Regions from separate parts of the Homo sapiens genome. Here all the other regions are linked to region 3. The links are contacts of gene promoters, found by promoter capture Hi-C in blood cells and fetal thymus (Javierre and others, 2016). All regions are on one chromosome and are shown on one strand. Each heading gives the region's core, a stretch centred on a gene start or on the middle of the fragment in contact. The rest is flanking DNA. Distances are from core to core; before and after follow the strand shown.

Region 1 (4,336 bases), core at 1,027-3,526, 180 kb before region 3:
CAAATTTAGTAATGTTGCAGGATATAAAATCAACATACAAAAATCAGCAACATTTCTACATTCTGACAGCATACAATATGAAAAAGAAATAAAAAAGTAATAGCATTTACAATAGCTACACATAAAATTAAAAATGAAAAGATATTCCATGTTCATTCGTTGGAAGAATCAATATTGTTAAAATGTCCATATTACCCAAAGCAATCTACAGATTCGATGCAATCCCTATAAAAATACCAATGACATTCTTCACAGAAATAGAAAAAACAATCCTAAAATGTGTGTGGAACCACAAAAGACCCCAAATAGCCATAGGTATCCTAAGGAAAAAGACACAACTGGGGTAATCACATTCCCTGACTTCAAATTATATGACAGAGCTATAGTAACCAAAGCAGCATTGTACTCACATAAAAACAGACACAGAAACAAATGGAACAGAATAGAGAACCCAGAAACAAAAACCACACACGTACAGTGAACTCATTTTTGAGAAAGGTGCCAAGAATATACACTGGAAGAAAAGACAGTCTCTTCAATAAATAGTGCTGGGAATACTGGATATCCATATGCAGAAGAATGAAACTAGCTCCTATCTCTCACCAGCTACCAAAATCAAATTAAAATGAATTAAAGACTTATATCTAAGACCTCAATCTACGAAACTACTTCAAGAAAACATTTGGGAAAATTTCCAAGACATCGTTCTAGGCAAAAATTTATTGAGCAATTCCTTACAAGCATAGGCAAACAAAGCAAAGACAGAAGAACGGGATCACAAGTTAAAAAGCTTCTGCACATCAAAAAAATACAATTCACAAAGTAAGGAGAAAGCCCAAAGAAATGGAGAAAATATCTGTAAACTACCCATCTGACAAGGGCTTAATAACTAGAGTATATAAGGAGCTTGAACAATTCTATAGGGGAAAAAAATCTAATAATCCAGTCAAAAATGGGCAGAAGTAAGCATTTCTCAAAAGAAGAAATACAGATGGCAAACAGGCATATGAAAATGTGCTCAACATCATTGTTCATCAGAAAAATGTAAATCAAAACTGCAATGAGCTATCATCTCACCCCAGTTGAAATGGCTTATATCCAAAAGACAGACATTAATAATGATGCTGAGGATGTGGAGAAAAAGGAAATGATGGTGGAAATGTAAGTTAATACAACCACTATGGAGAACAGTTTGGAGGTTCCTCAGAAAACTAATAATTGAGGTACCATATGATCCAGCAATCTCACTGCTAGGTATATAGTGAGAAGAAAGGAAATTAGTGTATTGAAGAGATATCTGCATTCCTGTTTGTTGTAGCACTCTTCACAGTAGTCAAGATTTGGAAGCAACGTATGTGTCCATCAAGAGATAAATGGATAAAGAAAACGTGGTACATAATGCACAATGGAGTACCATTCAGCCATAAGAAAGAATAAGATTCTGTCATTTGCAACAACATTGGTGGAACTGAAGATAATTATTTTAAGTGAAATAAGACAGGCACAGAGAGACTAACGTCACATGTTCTCACTTATTTGTGGAATCCAAAAGTCAAAACAACTGAACTCATAGACATACAGAAGAAGGATGGTTTCCAGAGGCTGAGAATGGTAGTGAGGGGCTGGAGGGAGGAAGGAGGTGGAGATGGTTAATGTCTACAAAATAAATAGAAAGAATAAATAAGACCTACTGTTGATAGCAGAATAGGGTGACTATAGTGAATAATAATTGTACATTATAAAATAACTTAAAGATGTAATTGAGTTGTTTGTAACTCAAAGGATAAATGCTTGAAGAGACAGATACCCCATTCTGCATAAGGTGGCTATTTTGGTTATTTCACATTGCATGACTTTATGAAAGGCATACCATATATCCCATAAATATATACATCTACCGTGTACTCAAAAAAAAATTTAAAAATTAAAAAAAAATTTTAGAGATCCATAGTATATTTTAGAGATCCATAGAGCCCATCTTGCATATTCTGTTGCTTTTGAAAGCATTTCTTTGACTTTGCATATTTTTTAATATCAAGTGGGTAAAAATATAACACAGAGAAACTCAATTATTTTTCTAAAAGCACACATTTATCTTGTAAAAACTTTATGTTGTTTCTTTACATAGAGTATTCATGTCAAAATTCAGTATGCATAACCAAAGATCATATTAACATTACCTTTATATCATAAAGTCTATGGGTCTTCAAAATCTTAACATTTCATTAAGTACCCTAGTTTTTTGATCTTAGGTACAATGATCAATAATAATACCTAATCATCTGTTCATAGAAGTGAACATTATATATATATAACTGTATTTAAAATCTCAACCACAAGTAGTGTCTTTTGACTTTCTCTTTAAAATCATTTTCACTAGATTTAAAATATTTCATGTAGAAAGGATTAATGCCCAGCTAGCAAAATTCATTTTTTTAAAATTTTAATTTAGTTTTATGAGCAGTCCCTCTTTTTTTAATATTATACTTTAAGTTCTAGGGTACATGTGCACAATGTGCAGGTTTGTTACATAGGTATACATGTGCCATGGTGGTTTGCTGCACCCATCAACTCATCATTTACATTAGGTATTTATCCTAATGCTATCCCTCCCCCAACCCCCCCCCAACACCGACAAACCCCAGTGTGTGATGTTCCCCTCCCTGTGTCCAAATGTTCTAATTGTGAAATTCCTACCTATGAGTGAGAACACGCAGTGTTTGGTTTTCTGTCCTTGTGATAGTTTGCTGAGAATGATGGTTTCCAGCTGCATCCATGTACCTGCAAAGGACATGAACTCATCCTTTTTTATGGCTGCATAGTATTCCACGGTGTGTATGTGCCACATTTTCTTAATCCAGTCTATCATTGATGGACATTTGGGTTGGTTCCAAGTCTTTGCTATTGTGAATAGTGTCACAATAAACATAGGTGTTCATGTGTCTTTATAGTAGCATGATTTATAATCCTTTGGGTATATACCCAGTAATGAGATCACTGGGTCAAATGGTATTTCTAGTTCTAGATTGTTGAGGAATTGCCACACTGTCTTCCACAATGCTTGAACTAATTTACACTCCCACCAACAGTGTAAAAGTGTTCCTATTTCTCCACATCCTCTCCAGCATCTGTTGTTTCCTGACTTTTTAATGATCACCATTCTAACTGGCATGAGATGGCATCTCATTGTGGTTTTGATTTGCATTTCTCTGATGACCAGTGATGATGAGCTTTTTTTTCATGTGTCTGTTGGCTGCATAAATGTCTTATTTTGAGAAATGTTTGTTCGTATCCTTTGCCCTCTTTTTGATGTTTTTTTTTTTCTTGTAAATTTGTTTAAGTTCTTTGTAGATTCTGGATATTAGCCCTTTGTCACATGGGTAGATTGCAAAAATTTTCTCCCATTCTGTAAGTTGCCTGTTCACGCTGATGGTAGTTTCTTTTGCTGTGCAGAAGCTCTTTAGTTTAATTAGATCCCATTTGTCTCTTTTGGCTTTTGTTGCCATTTGCTTTTGGTGTTTTAGTCCTGAAGTCCTTGCCCTTGCCTATGTCCTGAATAGTATTGCCTAGGTTTTCTTCTAGGGTTTTTATGTTTTTAGGTGTAACAGTTAAGTCTTTAATCTATCTTGAATTAATTTTTGTATAAGGTGTAAGGAAGGGATCCAGTTTCAGCTTTCTACATATGGCTAGCCAGTTTTCCCAGCACCATTTATTAAATAGGGAATCTTTTCCCCATTTCTTGTTTTTCTCTATTCTTAAGCCCAAGCTTATATATTTGTCAGTACAATAACATTTAGTTTTTTTCTTTTTGTGCCATAAGGATACATCTATTTCCTCAACTACACCTCCCGTAAAATTTTTTAAATTCCTGTTTTATTGTGTTTAATGTATATAACTCTGGGAAGTGAGGCACTTAAGGATGGGGGTAAGGTAGTGTGTTGGGATGCATGATACTAAACAGTCAACGTATGTTTCAGCAGTGAGACACATGGAGCACTCAAAGGTGCTGAAAAGACAATATTATAAGATCTCTGTAACTCATACCTGAATCAGTCTAATATATGGACACTTTGCTAGAATAATTTACAATTGCTAAAAATATAATAGGGACCATATTTGCCTTCAGAATAGTATATAAGTACAGAACCACTCTAGTCTCCATGATATCAATTTTAAGGTAATTACACAAAGAAAACACACTCAAGAAAAACATCTCTAAAAGCATAAAATAAATATTGGCACAAAAAATATGTGGAATAAGGAGATAAAAATCATGGCACTAAAATATTGAAATAGGATCTTAATTAAAAGACAACAAAATTTGATGCAATGCATT
Region 2 (4,341 bases), core at 1,067-3,566, 210 kb before region 3:
AAATTGTTAAGAAAGATTAGCCTCATGTCTTAAGACTGAAAGAATAGTGTGCTTTTATTACCAGCATTAACTTACAGGCAAAATAAAATGGAACATGTGATTCTGAGACTGCCAGCCTAGGTAAAGTAAACTAGTGGATAACTTCACAAATAAAGAGCATAGTAATCATGAAAATTAGAATTCCAAGGTTGATGATGAGCAGTTGACAAAACTGAAGTGGTAGGATTGAAAATGTAAATACAAATTGTGACCAAGAGACGGTCTATGTACATTCCGCTCTTATATGAACGGAGATGCTGCACATATTCAGAGTCCCTTTTAGTTTACCATACACCTGAGGATATGAAGGAGATTTTGCCATCTTGACAGTTTCATTGCTTCACAAAACTTCAATTTTTTTTCTCTGCTTTCTTTTAAGATCTAGTTTCAACCATAAGATGTTTCCCATTCACTTTTATCTTTATAGGACACTTGAAGGTTTATCTATAATCATTGTAGCAAGGCTTGTATTCTCTGAATGACAGAATAGCTAGCTCTTCTTTTACATCCCAAGATTTAAAGATCTGTTTTTGAATTTTGGGCCAATTACTTAACATACCCAGAGGAGGTGATGACTTTTGCTATCAGTGCTAATTATAATTGGTTTACCAGCTTTTGATAATAATCATTCACATGGCTGTAGTATCTCACATCCTCATTCACATACTAACCTATGCATATTTATTTTGATTGATACATATCAACTTTACAGTTGTTTTAGAACAGAGATCTGTAGAAAAGAAGCTAATGTGTCAGTAGGTATCACTACACAGAAATCTCACTTTTTCTTTTGCCAACATTCACGCAACCCACTGTTTTACACAGTGCACTTCGTCATCTTTAAATTATTTTTAATAGCATTTAGGATGTTCATTCATTAGCTAGTAAACATCTCTAGGCCTTACAAGCTCTGCTTAGCAAACATTACAGTCTCTGCAGTCTGTGCATTATTACTTTGTTATCAGTAACGAATGCACACAAATTAATGTGTCAATGTTAATAACCCATGAGATTACCTCTGAGATCTCATCCCGTATATCCAGCTGCTTACTGGATTTCGCCAAATATTCCCAAAAGTATCACATACACAGCATGTCCAAAATTCAATGCAATATTAATTTTTACTCTCCCATATTCGCTATCAGGGTTGATTGGGCCACACTATTCTAAAATCCTTTCAGATGTAAACTAATTTAGTCCTTTTAGTAGCCCTGTCAGAGATGAGATAAATGAAGTTCAGGTGCAAGGAGACTGAATTACTTTTCCCAGCCACAGACTGCTATGTGGATGTTGCCTGTAAGCACCTGCTCTCCCAATTGTGTTGCTAGGTAGTCTCATACTGCATTATTTTCCTCCATTTATCAGCTACTTCTGTAGGGCAGGCTCCTACCACATCTTTCCTAGAGTGATACATTAGTCTAGTCTCACACCTCTCAACTCTACTGCCACATCTGTCCAAGTGTTTTACGTAAAATGAAAATCAGGTCATAATATTTCCCTTTAGATGGTCCTGAATTGCTTATTAGATTAAAATGTTTTTAGAATGACATACAGGAGACTTTGAAATATTCATTGAATTAATTCACTCATTCTTGCGGTTCCGACGTCATTAGCATCTTCCTCCATGTCTCCCTACCTTACACTTGAACCTTCAGAAATACTAAATTATCAGAAATATCCATCGCACCTGTGCTGTTTTGTCTTCAACTTTGAGCACACTTTTCCTTCCCCATTCTTACCTTGCAGAAAAACTCACATTCAGTATTTTAAAATATCCTTATGCATTATCTGAACTCTGAAGTTTTTCAGAATAACTCACTCTGTCTGTCGCATAATACCTAACTCCTCTACATTTTGTATTTTGTATATATTTCCATATTTACATAATTCACATAATAAATATTCCTTTTAATGTCTGATTTATCTGTTTGTGAAATCCTTGAATCCATGGACTTTATTTTAGTCTTCCTATCTAAAAGAGTGCTTAGTAAAGAGTAAGAAATCTATAATTAATGAAGAATAAATGATAAAATTCAAAAGCATAAAAAATGGGCAAGGCCTGTTTGATTTTTAGACAAATATGTGTATAAATGTATCAACATGATCAATATAGGCTTTTATTCTAGTACCATTGATTATATTGTATTCATCAGGTAAACACCATATCACACTTAAGCAAATTAAATAAGCTTAGCATGGATAAATCACCCTGATCAATGGTTGTAGTTCACACCTTACAATTAAAGGTGATAAAGCCTTAATGTATTTTGTTTCTTTATGAGCCTTAATATTTATTAAGTGATGATCAGAGATTATCCACATATATGTATGTTCTTAAACGTGCATATTAATGTCTGTATTAATAATAAGCTTGTGGAAAGTTTAACATTTTCCGGCTTTCTCCACACATCACTGCAGTTTCTAGGCAATTTCTATTTTGAGCATAATTATCTACATGAGATCCAGCCCAACTTTTAAATTGAAGTATTTGTCACTATATTTTATCCATAAAAGAACTGAATTGATATATTTAAGTCCATGCAATTAGAAAACAACACACTGTACTTCTGAAGTACAATGTCTTTTATCTTCTTTTCTGCTATCAAGTGATAGTAATATATAGTACATCAATACTTGGAATTAAAAAAGAATAGACATAGGGAAATAAAGAAGAGGCTCTACAAAGGTCTGTTTGTTCAAATTCAAGTAATAAAAACAAAATTTGTTACATACCTAAAGCTTTACTATAGTATGAATCCCATGATTTCCAAAGAGTTTCAAACATGTAGTCCTGTAGGTGGTAGGAGATGAAATTTCTTATTCTGTCAGTGAAAGACATTTGGTCGGTGAGTTCTGATAAAACAGCAGGAACATAGGAAGGAGGGTATGGTACCTTCCCACAGTGCTTTTCCACTGTTGAGGCTGGAGAAAACCTCAAGGAGTACATAAATGGAATTCCAAGTTTTAAAGCTACTATATCGCCACAAGGAAATACTGGATCAGACACCAGGACTTCAAACTTGCTTTTCTTTAGCTTTGCCATCAGCTGTTGGTTTTTAAGAACGCCATCACAGATCTCCTGAGACACCATGTGGAAGTCCTTGATTACTTTGGCCATCTCCTGATAGAATCTCCAAATGGTTGAAGGAGATGGTCTATTTTCCAGCCATGTCAAAACGAAGTCCTTAATTACTCCTTCTATTCTTTCTTTGCCAAAGGGCACCTTATATATTTCAAATGTCAGAGATGGGTTAGAGGTTGGTGTGATGAAAAGTGCACCAGAGGCAACTAGGACAGTCACATTATGCTCCTTTTTAATGAGCTCATCTATAATTATCTTAACATTTAGCCAATGACTACCTTCCATTGGCCAAATCAAAACATTCCCACCAAGAGTGGTTCCTATGAGACTTATCTGAAGGGAGAACAGCAGAAGGTTGTTTAACATGATGTGGCTTGATGCAGAAGATTTGATGAGATGTGAAGCAAATGTTTTTCTCTGCTTTTAAAGAAAAAAAGGAAAGACAAAATTATTTCTCAATTTTGAGGCAAACCATTAATATCCTTAAAAGCCTTCTTTCTAGAAAGTGATACTAGTCATAGTAGCTCCATATTTTAGGATATTTACAGATTTATGGGTAATGTGTCTTACTTCTCAAATCTGTTGTTTTAATTTTAGTGTTTTAGTTATGATTCCTGCTGTCTAATCCTCCTTTTGAACTTGATACTCCAACCCTTTTTTGTGTGTTTCATAATTGTTACATTTTTACTATTAAATTGGATAAAGCTTCTGTACATCTCAACTCTACATTCAGGCCTAGGTATTGAAACCTCAGATAGGACCAAAACTCATTCAGAAATTTAAAGATGTTAATGCTGTAAGTTTTTAAATTTTTAATGCATGAATATAATTCCATTTATCACAATTAAACATTATAATAACAGTTACAATATATAAGATTGTCAAATAATATGTATAAATATATTACTATAAATATTTATAAATTCAAATATTTATAAATTCAAATAATACTTATAAATAATATGTATAACACATATAGTATTATATTACTACTTTAGTAATATGTTTACAAAAATAGTTTGTTAATCCTCAAGAAAATATTATAAATAAATGAATAAAATAAAATATGTGCAAGAGATTATAGGTAATGCTAGTAGTGAATAGGAGCTATTTAAGAGAATTACTAAGTCAAGCATACATCTACCAAAAGTGCTGTTCAAAAACTATCTAGCCTGCATGAAAAACAGCTACTTGACATCTAGATTCAGCCTTCAACAACT
Region 3 (4,798 bases), core at 2,212-4,711:
CAGCACTTTGGGAGGCCGAGGCGGGTGGATCACGAGGTCAGGAGATCGAGACCATCCTGGCTAACATGGTGAAAACCCGTCTCTACTAAAAAATACAAAAAAATTAGCCAGGTGCAGTGGCGGGCGCCTGCAGTCCCAGCTACTCGGGAGGCTGAGGAAGGAGAATGGCAGGAACCCAGGAGGCGGAGTTTGCAGTGAGCAGAGATCGCGCCACTGCACTCCAGCCTGGGAGACAGAGCGAGACTCCGTCTCAAAAAAAAAAAAAAAAAAAAAAAAAAGATAACTAAGGGCATACTTAGTGTGTTTGGCTTTATTTTTAAGTGGTAAATGGAACAACCAGATGAAGAAATATGAATTCGGACTAGTCTAATTTCTAAAAGTCTACAGTTGTAAAACTCCAGAACTATGCTTAAAAATGGAGTTTTGTAGATAGACTTAAAGGGCTGGTGAGCTGAAAGAGAGTTTTAGAGTACCTGTAAAAATGGTGGTCATACGCTGTATATACGACAACATTAATGACATAAGGTAAACAGTTGGTAGTTTTAAATTTTCATTATGGGATGAATACAGGTTCATTAGTATATATTATGTAAGTTTCTAACTGTGCTCAACAACATCCATTTCTCAATGTACTATTCAAGTTACAGGTAAAAATTGTGGTCATGGAATAGAGCTACCTTTTCTATGTCCATATCAAAACTACCGCATCTGTTCTTAATATAGAGAATGAGTGTGTACGACATGAACACCTTAATATTTACCATTTACAGTGTGTTTGTTATTTTTAGGTGAAAAAAGAACAACAAAGAGATTTACCAGATTTAGGGTAGGTGGCAATGACAAGATCATCTGGTCTTGCCTGGAACGCTTCCACATTATCCCAATATTTGACAAAATCTTTATACATTAGAATCCCATGGACTTCTTCAAACTTTTCATAATAGTCAAGTTCAGAATTCATTGTGGTACACTGAAAAAAAACCTCTGCTTTATACTTTGTATGTACTTAACAATATTTCACCATTAACAACTATGTATATAACGGGACCCTCCTACATACCTAGCACTTCTTAGTTGTTGCACATATGGGGCAAAAACATAGTAAAGTTGCATATCAAATAGTTTTGGTACATAGAGAGTTTTTAACCTTATTAGAAAGATGTCTAACACATAAAAGAATAGGAAAGCACAAGTGATTATGAAGTAAAATGCTTAAAACTAAATAAAAATGTGGATATATTCAATTATATTTATTCCGTGATAAATAAAAACCACAGAACCTTCAATTTCTTTCAAAATTGCTGGGGCATATAAAAAGACAAAGAGGTCCAGAATTACAGTTATTTTAGCAAATTATCCAATTATGTATATGTCAAATAACAATAAAGATCATTACATTTGATTATTATTGCCGGGTATCTAAGTCAGAGATTTTTGACTTCCTGAATATGTATCATTTTTTTAAATAAACCAAATGCTTGGTGAATGTATTTAAAAGAAAAGATGAAATTAATTACACTGTAATGGTTATATCAAAGAAATGGAATCTTGAGAGTATAAAGGATTCCTCTGTGACCTTTAAAATTACTTTTTTCCCCATTCGATCAATAAGGTAGTGGATACTCCCATTGAATGACTTGGCTAAAAATGATAAGGTTAAGCAAGATGGTTATCATTTCCTAATTCATCTCCTGATCCCATGACAATCTATTTCATGTTCAAGGTTACTAACAGAATTTTTAATTAGGCATACTTTCTTTCATTAGCTTTCAAATTCCTTTAGTATCTTGTTTTTTCAACTGCCAAACTTAGCTTATTTCAAGTTTCTGACATAGCTTCCCAACACATTTTGTCTTTCCTGACATTAGCCTTTCTAGATCTTCCTCCTGTTCACATTTGCCCAAAAACCTGCCTGATAAGTTCTTCTACACACATAAATTGCCCCAGCCCTTAGGACAATCTCAACTTTTAAAAAACCTTCCTCTACATCATATCAGATGTAATGTCACCAAAAATATGAGATTTCTATTTCCAAAATGCATATTAGCCTTATCAATAAATCACTTGTTCCCCAAGCCTTCTCCTTAGTCTCAGAAAATAGATCTTTCACTAGAAGAAATGTGTATAAAATGCACCACGATTTGTCCTGCCTATTGGTTTGCTTACTCATGTGAATTACTTTCTTGGTGTTCAGCCAAGTTTATAAGAATTGGCTTATAGTCAGCTGGGAGTGGTAGATTTATCATTAAGTGGTTGGCTGACTTCCAGCTACTCCTTCATAGTCAATTTTGGTCTGAGAGGCAAAGTAGGTGGCATGTAATAAAATATCTTTTCTCATTCTATTCCTTTTGGTAAATTGTCTCATATTACAATGTATGGATTTACTTCCTATGTGATCCCCATTTTCTCAAAAGATCTATTTCAGTTAGAAATTGTCAATTTTTTATTCTGAGTATGTAGGTCAGTTGTTCAGAAATAAACATCAAAAAAGTTGTTAAAATTGTGACTTATAAATTCAATTAAACTCAGAAAGTGTTTTTCCTTCCCGCTCTCCTTCCTCTCTTTCTTCCTTTCTTTCTGCATACTCCCCTCCTGCATCTTCCAACCTGCCTTTTATCCAGCAAATACTCCCTATGTGAATGCCTACCCTTTTCCTAGGCCCTGTAGTCAGTGCTAGAATACTATGGTGGATATAGATACATAGGGTTCTCATAGTCCCTACTTTCTTAGATTTACCTGTATGAGGGCAAAGTGACTTTTGTACATGTTTCTATCCCAATCTCCAGCACTATGACACAAAGTAGATGTTCAGAAATATTTGTTAAGTTCAATTATTAGATCAAGAAGCTCTCTAGTTTCTACTAAGTAAGGATTCACAGATTTAAAAGGCAATATATGTCAATGACCTACATATTAATTATTTACCAAGGACTTTGGATTTCTGTCATATTTATCTGAAGTTTCTTACATGAAAGTAATGCCCCTATTTGCAAGACCCCTTATCACAGGAACACAAAACTAAAAGTCAATCTCTATTCTACCTCCTTCTACCCTGCTTGCTTTATTTTCTCATTGGTAAAATGGAGAACACGTCCAGCATTCAGCACTTTTAAGATAGCAATGGTACTGTAATTTTACATTAAAGCAATAAGCAACAAAATACTACATAAATGTAAAATATTATTTTTAACAACAAATTATTTTAAAAGGTTTTAAATGCTTCACATCATTAATTAACTAAAGTATCAATCAAGACTTTGGTCTTTGTATATTTTATTTTTAAGAGCTTTGTAATACATAATTTTCATTCTATATTTTATATATCTAAAATCTAAGTATTGATATTAATAATAAAAAAGTACAACCTGTTTAGTTGATCCTGTGAAAGAAATTGATCTAGTTTATATCTCTTCAAATACCAAGGCAGATCTTAAGCTGCAAAAAAAGATGAGAACCACTTCTGCATTTGGAATGTTTCTGGTGAGTTTATATCCTGAATGCCAGAGAAGGAGGTGGAGATTAATTTGGGGGCTTGGCTTCATGAAGTCCATGATGCAATAGTTAATGTAGATGTAAATGCATACCTGCAGCTGCAGTAACCACACAGAGTCATGTTCATTCATGGAGATGTAGAAATATCCTGCTGTTATTTTTTTAATTATTTGGCTCATATTCAAATTCCCAAGTCTGCCGTCAGGGGTTGGGGAAGAAGGAGGGAGAAAAGGAAAAGATGAGAAAGAAGAGGCCTGGGAAGAGAGACTGGGAAGGGAGAATCCCTTATTCACTCATTGACAAATAATAGCATGACTATGGTTAACTTTCAAAAGAATAAACTTATTGGAGTGAAGAAAGAGAAGCCAATGAGGAAAGAAATAAGACAGCAAGGACCCTCAATCAGACCTAGCTCAGTTTATTAAGACCTGCCAAAGAAGTCATTGGGTTGTATCTTAACATGTCAATTGGAAAACACCTATTTAAACTCTTTGCCTTTAACTCTTAAGCAGACCTGAAAATTTTAAAAAGCAGATGACAGCTAAAGAAAGAATGTAAACATCACTCACCTTTCGATTATTATTTTAGAAACCTGACTTCTCTCTGCTCCCAACCACAAAATAGCATACTGTGAATTTTTCAGGTAATGATAGCTACCAACACTTGGAATTTACACAAGAGAATTAGAAAAATAAATGGCCAAGGGTTTGTGGAATCCACAAATGCATTACCTTTCTTTTCATTTTTCTGCACCTACTCTGTCACTTAAGAAAATTATCCTTTGCTCCACCCCATCAACACCTCCAACCCTGTTATTTCTTATTTCTCTATTAATTACTGTTAGATTACATTTCCTTTGAGAGGCTCACTCTTACAAGACTCTATGTTTCTCTTAGTGACTTTTAAACTTTGAACTTTCTCCTAACTAGTATTTATTTTACTGTGTTGTAAATCAATGTTTGCTTGTCCAGAGTACTTTTTAAATTATAAATAGCTTGAAAACAGGGTCTTACTCTGTAATTAGCATTTTTTTCTGGCATCTAGTAGGCTAGGCATTGAATATGTATTTACTGAATAAAAGTGGCTGATTTATTCAAGAAATATAAGAAGTTAAGGGGGCTATAGTTGTTATAGAAAGCAATATCTAGCCTTATGCAAAATAAGAGGTGTTAAGTGGTTTCTGAAAAATGGGGCTTTTCATAATAGAAAATTAAGGTAGAAAAGGAGTAACCAGGGACCCAAATTTAGATTTTCATTTTACTTTGTTTTATGCAGTCTGTCATATTATTTGAGTTAAATAAAATAT

The links. The method cuts DNA at HindIII sites, captures the fragments that hold promoters and counts their contacts. A CHiCAGO score of 5 or more calls a contact.
Region 1: a contact is called between a fragment that was not itself captured here and the fragment with the promoter of SULT1E1 in region 3, in 4 of 17 cell types (neutrophils, M0 macrophages, monocytes and 1 more). The highest score is 9.2, in neutrophils.
Region 2: a contact is called between a fragment that was not itself captured here and the fragment with the promoter of SULT1E1 in region 3, in 1 of 17 cell types (activated CD4 T cells). The highest score is 5.2, in activated CD4 T cells.

What each region holds. Positions count from the first base shown.
Region 1 is chr4:69,675,706-69,680,041 of GRCh38, forward strand. No RefSeq gene overlaps it. Among named protein-coding and RNA genes, the nearest start is that of UGT2A1, 25 kb to the left of the region's middle. The HindIII fragment of the contact is 2,976 bases long and covers 789-3,764 here.
Region 2 is chr4:69,644,158-69,648,498 of GRCh38, forward strand. It overlaps UGT2A1 (UDP glucuronosyltransferase family 2 member A1 complex locus), which reads right to left. Exons shown (of 7, transcript NM_001252275.3): 2 at 2,773-3,541. The coding sequence starts at 3,487. Among named protein-coding and RNA genes, the nearest start is that of UGT2A2, 6.7 kb to the left of the region's middle. The HindIII fragment of the contact is 181 bases long and covers 2,227-2,407 here.
Region 3 is chr4:69,856,684-69,861,481 of GRCh38, forward strand. It overlaps SULT1E1 (sulfotransferase family 1E member 1), which reads right to left and starts at 3,462. Exons shown (of 8, transcript NM_005420.3): 1 at 3,366-3,462; 2 at 817-970. The coding sequence starts at 961. The HindIII fragment of the contact is 12,779 bases long and covers 1-4,798 here.